3 separate regions of the Homo sapiens genome follow, and all the other regions are linked to region 2. The links are contacts of gene promoters, found by promoter capture Hi-C in human tissues and cell types (Jung and others, 2019). All regions are on one chromosome and are shown on one strand. Each heading gives the region's core, a stretch centred on a gene start or on the middle of the fragment in contact. The rest is flanking DNA. Distances are from core to core; before and after follow the strand shown.

Region 1 (2,700 bases), core at 25-2,524, 510 kb before region 2:
CCTCCCTGGGCAGCACCAACGATGGGTCATTGAAAACAAACTGACTGAGTGATTTGTATTCCCCTCTCTCTCATGTTTAAGCACTGGGCCAACCCCTGGAGCATGTTAAGTGGGTTACTGCCTGCAGTGGAGTGGTGGAGGGGAGAGGCAGAGACACACAGCCATGGCCCCAGGCAGAGGAAGAGGAAGAGGGGAGGTCAGGAAGGTTGGGGAGAGATGAAGAGAGAGGGGAGAGGATAATGGGAAAGTGGAAGAGAGGAAAGTGGGACAGGGAAAGAGAGAAGTAAGGGAGCAGAGAAAGAGGAAAAGCAGGGGAAAAGGATGAGGCAGAGGCACTTGGAGGAGGAATGAAGCCAGGGCCTGGGTCTCATGAGATGAAAAGGTCAACCACGGCCCCTCTAAAGAAGGCTGCCAACATCCTTTGGCCCATGAGTAGAGAAGTATTTTAAAATATAAGCTTAATGAGGGCAGGGACTTTTTAAAAATTGTTTCTTTTTCTTTTGGTGTTGTATCTTCAGCTCCTAGAATCATGCCTGCCCAGGAATTTAATAGCTATTTGTTGAATGATAATATTTTAGCGCTGGCAGTCAACTAACCACATTTTAGACAAGTAGCTTCTGTGGGCTCCATCCTGCACTCTTGACAATGGGGAGACTCCAGAGAGAGGGACCAGGCTGCCTGGCTGTTTTTGAGGATCACAGCTTGGCTGGGCAAAACGGGCTGAGAGAGGGGAGGTAAAGGGAATTTGCATGACAACGCACAGTCAGCGGGTGATTGGCTGGCTCTGGCTACAGGCAGCACAGGAGGAACAGCCCAGAGAAGCGGGGCCTTGAATGCAGCTGAGGATGCAGCTCTGATGTGCCCACTTGGTCTTAAAGGTCTGGCATGTTCCAAAAGTTTGCACAAAACTTTCCCGTTGTAACCTAAGGGCTCATTCTTCCTTGGGAAGAAGGTGCATTATTCATCTCAGTGACCTGCCGATATTGACCCCAGGTCTCCCCATAGCTTCTTAAACCACCTGATTCAGGTTTATTAGGGGCAAAGGTGAGTAGCTGGGCTCAAGTCCTAAACTACCTCCTGGCCAACACTGGTGGGAAGTCCAGGAAGCCTCTCATGATATGTCCTCATTGGCTTAACCAACTCTCATGAATCAGATGAGATAATAAGGTGAGATTCACTGACTTTGGAGTCCAGCTGGATTCAAATCCCAGCTCTATAGCTTCCAAGCCTTGTGATCTTGGACCACTTTGTGAATAGCAAGAGCTTAAGTTTACTGAGTATTGACTCTTCCAGGAACTGTTCTCAGTGTTGTGTATATGGGTTCACTACCCTATGTGGCAGGAACTAGATTTATCTAATTTCTCAGATGAGGAAACTGAGACACAGAAAGGTATAATAACAGGCCTAGAGGCAAGGAGTGAGTATGCGATAGAGTCAAGTTTGAGCTCAAGCAATCAACCTCAAAGCCCTGGTCTTAACTTCTGCACTATTTTTACCCTTCTGAGTCTCAGTTTCTTCATTTGTCAAATGAGACAAAATAGGACCTTCTTCCTAGTATTACTGAGAGAATTTGAAATACAGTAATATATAAAGTACTTGATAAAGTGGGGATTCAAGAAACTGCAGCTATCATATTTTACGGATGTAAGAGTATATTTCTGTTGTAAAAAAAATGGCAATAATGCAAATCTTTTTTTTTTTTTTTTGAGATAGAGTTTTGCTCTTGTCACCCAGGCTAGAGTGCAGTGGCACGATCTCGGCTTACTGCAACCTCTGCTTCCTGGGTTCAAGCAATTCTCCTGTCTCAGCCTCCCGAGTAGCTGGGACTACAGGTGCATGCCACCACACCTGGCTAATTTTTGTATTTTTAGTAGAGACAGAGTTTCACCATGTTGGCCAGGCCGGTCTCGAACTCCTGACCTCAGGTGATCTGCCCACCTTAGCCTCCCAAAGTGCTGGGATTATAGGTGTGAGCCATCGCGCCTGGCCACAAACCTTAATTAAATGTCAGTTAGTGGCCCAAAACCATGGTGACACTCCTGCTTCCTAACACCTGCTCTATTACACCATTTAGTGTATGCGCCCTAGTTCCCCTATACTGGGCATCTTCCATTTGACCCTCCAGGTCCACAGTACACCCTTCTTCACCCTGGTCATTGTCCAGGAGGCTGGTCAGTGCAGCCCCCACCAGTGGGCATCATGCCCTCTGCCTCCTGAATAGGGGAGGTCAACTGGGAAGATCAACAGAAGATGGGAGGGAGAAAGGAGAGTGAGTTTGGGCTATTTATCCTCCTACCCCCAGCTTCCTCATCACGAGTCTGGCCCGCAAGCAAAGGTGACATACCTGGTGAGACACCTTTTTGATACTGCTCACATATTCTCTGGGGTCCAGGAACTACTGCCTCCCTTCTCCCTCCAAGTTTAGGGGAGGTAACAGCCTCCCAGTGTTACCAGCCCCAGGGTATTTCACTAACCCTGTGGTTTCTCTATGCCATCCCCACACCTTTGTAAATAGTTTCTTTTAATATAACTCATTTGAATGTGTCTTCTGTTTCCTGATGGGACCCTGAACAATATGCAGCTTCAACTAGATGAAGCCAGAAGGCATCATCTTTATTAAAGCCTGGCAGACTTTGGGTCAAATCTTGTTCTAGTATTTGCCAGCCATGTGACTTACATAAGAACCTCAGTTTTCTCATC
Region 2 (2,700 bases), core at 33-2,532:
AGGCCCCAGTCCCTTTTACCCTTGTTATCTCTCTGGCTTAATCTCTTAGAACTCTTCAGTCACCCAGATGTATGTCCTCGCTAGTTCCTCAAACACCCCAGGAATGCTCCCTTCTCAGAGCCTTTGCTCACGTTGTTCCCTTCCTTGGAACGCTTTCCTCTTAGACAACCAAATGATTAGTTCCCTTGCCTTCTTCACGTCTTCTTCAATTGTCTCCTTTTCAAAGTCCTTCACCCTGGCCATCCTATAAGTACGTAACCCCACCTCTTAGCACTTCCTGTTTCCATTTCCTGTCTTTTCTCCTTGGCACTTGTCATCACAAAATAGACCATGTATTTTACTTACCTTATTTGTTGTTCAGTTCCTCAAGCTCCACAAATCATCACAGCAGGGATTTTCATTTGCTTTGTTCTTTTGCCATATTCCCAGTACCTGAAACAGCACCTGGCATAGAGTAGATACTCAATAAATATTTGTTAAGAAGAATAAAAGACTGACTGTGAGGGCACATAGCATGGAGGTTGAATATTTGGCCTGAAGTACAAAAGCCTGCATTTTAATCCCGGCTCTGCACACTTCTGTGACTCAGTTTACCTGTAACTTGGGATAATACACATCGCCTCCCATGGCTGTGGCAAGCATGCATCTGATTTCATTTAAACCCCTAAACCCACTGCCTGGCCTGTTTCAAAATCTCTGAGCTAAGTAAATGGCAGCTATTGTTACTCAGGGAGGCTCCTGATCGATTTGACATTACATTATGGCTTTGTAACAGGCAAATCAGCACCCACCGCTTTTGAGTCATAACTCACACACTTACTCCCCAAATTGTCAGTTTTGATCCCACCTCTGCCAGGACCCCTCCTTTCCTGAACCCACGTTCCCCCAAAGCAAATGGCCTGGGTCTTTTTGCAGTCAGCCCCTTTCAACACACATCTCCTCCTGTTTAAATCTCAGAAGGCCACCCTCCTAAATCTCAGGATGCCTGCCCTGGGGCCCCTTCCACACTCTCCCCCAGTGGAGCTAGGGAATTTGGGTGGGAAACAAAGGGGAGAACATAAGGTGAGCTGAGAGGGAGAGGGAGAAGAGAGCAGGCCAAGCCATACCCACCTGCCAGGTTCCTGTCTTTGCCTACTGATAAATAGGGGATACTAATGGCCAGATTTTCCATTCCCCCACCCCAGCACCCGCTGTCACTCAATTAAAAAAAGATAGAGGGAGAGAGCCTGGGGGAGGGGCAGGAGGCCTTGGCTATAAAGCCTGTGGCTAAGTGGGGAAAGCACGAAGCCTGGCCTGCTGGGTCCTTTTCCCGTCATCCCCAGCCAGATTTAGCTGCTGACAGCTGCTTGGGACTCTGCCGCCAGGGCCTGGCCCAGACCTGCCTGCCTCTCTCCTCTCCCTCAGTGACTCCTGAGCCACAGCCCCTCCATGGCCCAGAAGGAAGAGGCTGCTGTGGCCACTGAGGCTGCCTCCCAGAATGGGGAGGATCTGGAGAACCTGGACGACCCTGAGAAGCTGAAAGAGCTGATTGAGCTGCCGCCCTTTGAGATTGTCACAGGGTAAGCCTCAGATGTGGGTCAGGGTTCTGCTCCCTAGAAGAGTGCAGCCTTGGGTTAGGCTGTGGAAATTCAGGATGGTTATATTAGGCGTCAGGGACAGCTACAACCCTGCAGCAGTGAGAGTGCACCAGTGGGCCCGGCAGGGGTGGTAGGGGACCCAGCAGCAAATTCTCTTGGCTTCTCAGGGTGACACCTTGGGCTCTCTAATCAGGGAGAGGTAGGAGGAGCTCCTTGGAGGCAAAAGCCCAGAGAATAAAACCACCCTTCAGGCCTCCTGGTATTGGGATGGCCACCTGCCTCTCTGGGTAGAAGCTTAGTCCCAGGGAGTTTGGCGAGGACAGAGGATGAGACTGGCACATCTATATGTGGCTCCGTTCAAAGCAACCCTTCCCCTCAACTTCTCTGTTCCTGAGTGGGTCTCTCCGCTAGCCATAGGCCTCTAGCCCTTTCTTTAGAGCTTCTTCCTGGAGTAGATGCTCCCAAGACAGGAAAGATAGATCCATCCTTTCCCAAGACTCAGAAGCAGCTTTTTTCTTATTAAATCTTTTGAGTCTCCTCAGGGGCTGTCCCACAGAGAAACAGAGAAATTACATGCAGATAACGCAGCCCAGGAGCTTATGGACACAGGAGCTGTTCCAACATGCTCAGGCATTGCCTGGAGGAACTGGGACCCAAAGAAAAGGGTCTACAGACTGCAAGGAGGGGGCTGTGTGCAGGGTACCTCTGTCTTATCCAGATTATGCCATCTCCAGGAATAAAACTAAGTAGTCTTCTTCCTCTTCCCTTTCTATTCCTGTAGTGGAAGACCCTTCTAAATCCTGAGCAAAGAATAAAAAGAGAATCTATGAGGCCATATTTCCTCCTTGAACCAAACGTTCCCTTCATGGGGTCTCCAGGAATGACCACAGGCAGAGTGGGTGCGAGACTAAGAGAAGTTTCAGGAAGAAAGGAGGCATGATGCTTTCAAGGGGGAAAGGAAGCCCTGAGTGGCAATTTGGACTTGATATTTCAAGCTTGACAAGTGATTTTCCAGTCAGCCACAGTTTTAGCACTTATAACATGAAGATCTATAGTAGTAAGGTCCCTTCCAGCTCAGATGTTTTCTGATTTTCAAGAGAACCTAAGGGAAAATGCATCCTAT
Region 3 (2,700 bases), core at 78-2,577, 360 kb before region 2:
CTTTTATCCTTACCCTGTAGATTCCCCCTTTCCATTACTTTATTAAGTACAAGTAATACGGGGTAAACCATCCAAAGGTCTCTGCCCACACAGGCTTCCAACTTCCATGGCATATCTCCTGGGTAGGGGCCTCAGCCAGGGCTGCTGACCAGAAGAGAAAGAGAGTTACAAGGCACAAGGATCTACACAAAGCTGCCTGACAGAATTCTAGCTGGGGCTTTGGCTGTGGTTCCCACATGGAGCTTCCTCCTGGCATCATGTGGTGTGAATCTGGAGACAGCTTCATGAGAAGTAAGGCCTTTGCACCATTTCCCCTTCCCAGTGTTCTGAGCCCCTAGTTGCTTCCCTGCAACCCAGCTTTGCTGGAGTGAGGTGAGAATGAGAAGAAAAGAAGACACTTGGCTTTGTTCCCAAGTATGGGCTGGGTGGAAGGGTTATGTCTAGTTTGGCAGCCTAGCATGGGAGGGTGCCCGGTGGAGGGTGGGAAGCATAGGCAATGAACCAGGACAACTGCTGTGGTCTGAGTCGCTATTTTCCCTCTCTCCTTCCTAAGCCCACACATCACATTTCAATCATCTCAGAGGATCTGTGCAGCAGCAGGAGATGGGCTGCAGGGATGCAGAGCATCCAGCCACGGCCTCCCCGGTGCCATAAGCTGATTAGAAATAAACATGGGGGCAATACACAGCAGTGGCTTTCTCACCTTATGCAGCAGAATCTGTTTCTAGGTCCAGGCTAAAAGCCAGCAGGCAAGAGAGAAGGGCACTGAGACACTTAGGCAAAGGCTGAGGGGCCGGGCACCTTGGGGCATTTTGTCATCCCTCTGTCTCCAAGAAAAACTTCAAAGATTCCAGTGTGGCCACTCTTTTGACTCCATTTGGATAATGAGACACCCTAAACAGTAAAGTGCAGGTCATCACATATCTCAATAAAATAAGAGGATTAAATGGAAAAGGAATCTGGATTGGTGCAAGGGTTGGAAGAAACCTCTCCCCTGTGCCAGCCAGAAATCTGTCTTGGAGTTCCGGATCTTTACACGATATGATGAGGAAAGGCTAGGACAGAGGGAGCTCTCAACCGTGTGGGTTGGGGATGGGTGGGATGAGGGGAACACAAGGTCAGTGCTGCTGGGGATATAATAACAACCAACACTTACCGTTACTGAGAAGTCCTAGGCACCAGGCCCTAAGCTAGGCACTTTTATTCATTATGACGTTAAATCCTTATAATAAGCCTCTGAAGTAGCTACTATTGTCCTCGTATTACAAAAGAGGGGAACCAAGGCTCAGAGAGACTTGGTAGGCTCACACGGCTAGGTGTGAGTTGCCCAGTCAGACCTGGAAACCAAGCTTCCAAAACCCATCACTCTTGAAGTGACATCTATGCCCTGTCCCCCAGTGCAGAGCCATCACCACGGTGCTGCTCCCGGGTGAGGCTAGGGCCACAGCTCACCAATGGCAGGCGGAGGGGTGGCTCTAAAGTGGATAACGTTGGGTGGGGGGACCCCATGGCTCTGGTTCCATCTGCCTAGAGGCCTTTGCTTAAGGCAGCTGGAAGCCCAATCATCTCACCTCATGCTTCTAACACGTTTCTGGTTATTAACAGGGACAGCGGTCCAGTTTCCCCTCTGTCCCTGAAGTTTCACAGTGTCTAAATGCCTGCACACAGCCACTGCCTTAGCTCAAACCCTGGCCATCTTTCATGTGGCCCCTCTGAGCAGCCTCCTGCCCCATAATTCTTCCCAAGGCAAAGCTCATCATGTCACCTCTCTTAAACTCTTTCAGGACCACTTTTTCCTGGGGAGTAAAGTTCAGATTGCTTAATTTGACTTTCCCAAGCTGGCCCCAACCTGCCTCCCAGGGTCCTGTCTCTCCCACATTCTCTGCACTCCAGAGACCTCAGAGGCCTGGCTGTTATACTGGGTGTGCCTTGCATTGCCATACTTCCTCGCCTATGCTGTTGCTCCAGCTTTCCTTCTCCTGATTATTCCCCTTGGCAAAATGTCACCTTTCCTGCCCAATTCAAATGTCATATGCCTTATGAAGCTTCTCCTCTGTGGCAACTCCTCCCCTGAAGACTCCTTCTGAGTTTGTGATGAAGATGAGGATAATGATAAAAGTAGTAAGAGCTAACACTGAGGAATGCTCACTCTGTGCCAGGCACTTTTCAAGTATTACCTTGTTTAATTCTCATAACAACCCGAGGAGATGAGTGCCATCATTATCTTCATTTCATAGATAGAAAATGGAGGCCCAGAGAGGTTAAGTGACTTGCCCATAGTCATGCAGCTCATAAATGGAGAGGAACAAGGATTCAACCACAGCCATGCAGTTCCAGAGCCTGTGCCCTTAAGCAATCCCCAAGGCTCCTCCACACAAAGAACACCCATGGGGTGCAGATCCAAAGGTTCCTTTACAGAAGCATTGCTCACCTTATTTGAGAGGCCATGAGTCCCCTGTCTCCCCTGATCATCTGTGAGCTCCTTGAGGGCGAGGTCTGTCTTAGGAATCTGTCTTTTGTCTAGCACAACACCAAGGACAACAATGAGCAAGGCCTTTGCAGGAGAGAACAAATGAATGACATGTAATGATAATTATTTGAAGCATCATTCTGAGTCATCACAGGAGAGTGATAAATGCCCCAAAATGATGACCCATTGGTGAGATGAGGCACTTCTGTGCTGTCTCCCAGGCAGAAATG

The links. The method cuts DNA at HindIII sites, captures the fragments that hold promoters and counts their contacts. A contact is called where the count stands out against the background at its distance.
Region 1: a contact is called between a fragment that was not itself captured here and the fragment with the promoter of APOBEC2 in region 2, in 1 of the 25 tissues and cell types used here (thymus).
Region 3: a fragment that was not itself captured here is called in contact with the fragment with the promoter of APOBEC2 in region 2 in 1 of the 25 tissues and cell types used here (lymphoblastoid cells).

Annotation. Positions count from the first base shown.
Region 1 is chr6:40,545,416-40,548,115 of GRCh38, forward strand. The region is part of intron 1 of LRFN2 (leucine rich repeat and fibronectin type III domain containing 2); the gene reads right to left. Among named protein-coding and RNA genes, the nearest start is that of LRFN2, 41 kb to the right of the region's middle. The HindIII fragment of the contact is 3,923 bases long and covers 1-2,700 here.
Region 2 is chr6:41,051,920-41,054,619 of GRCh38, forward strand. APOBEC2 (apolipoprotein B mRNA editing enzyme catalytic subunit 2) reads left to right here and starts at 1,283. Exons shown (of 3, transcript NM_006789.4): 1 at 1,283-1,559. The coding sequence starts at 1,429. The HindIII fragment of the contact is 7,265 bases long and covers 1-2,221 here.
Region 3 is chr6:40,689,919-40,692,618 of GRCh38, forward strand. No RefSeq gene overlaps it. Among named protein-coding and RNA genes, the nearest start is that of LRFN2, 100 kb to the left of the region's middle. The HindIII fragment of the contact is 4,010 bases long and covers 1-2,700 here.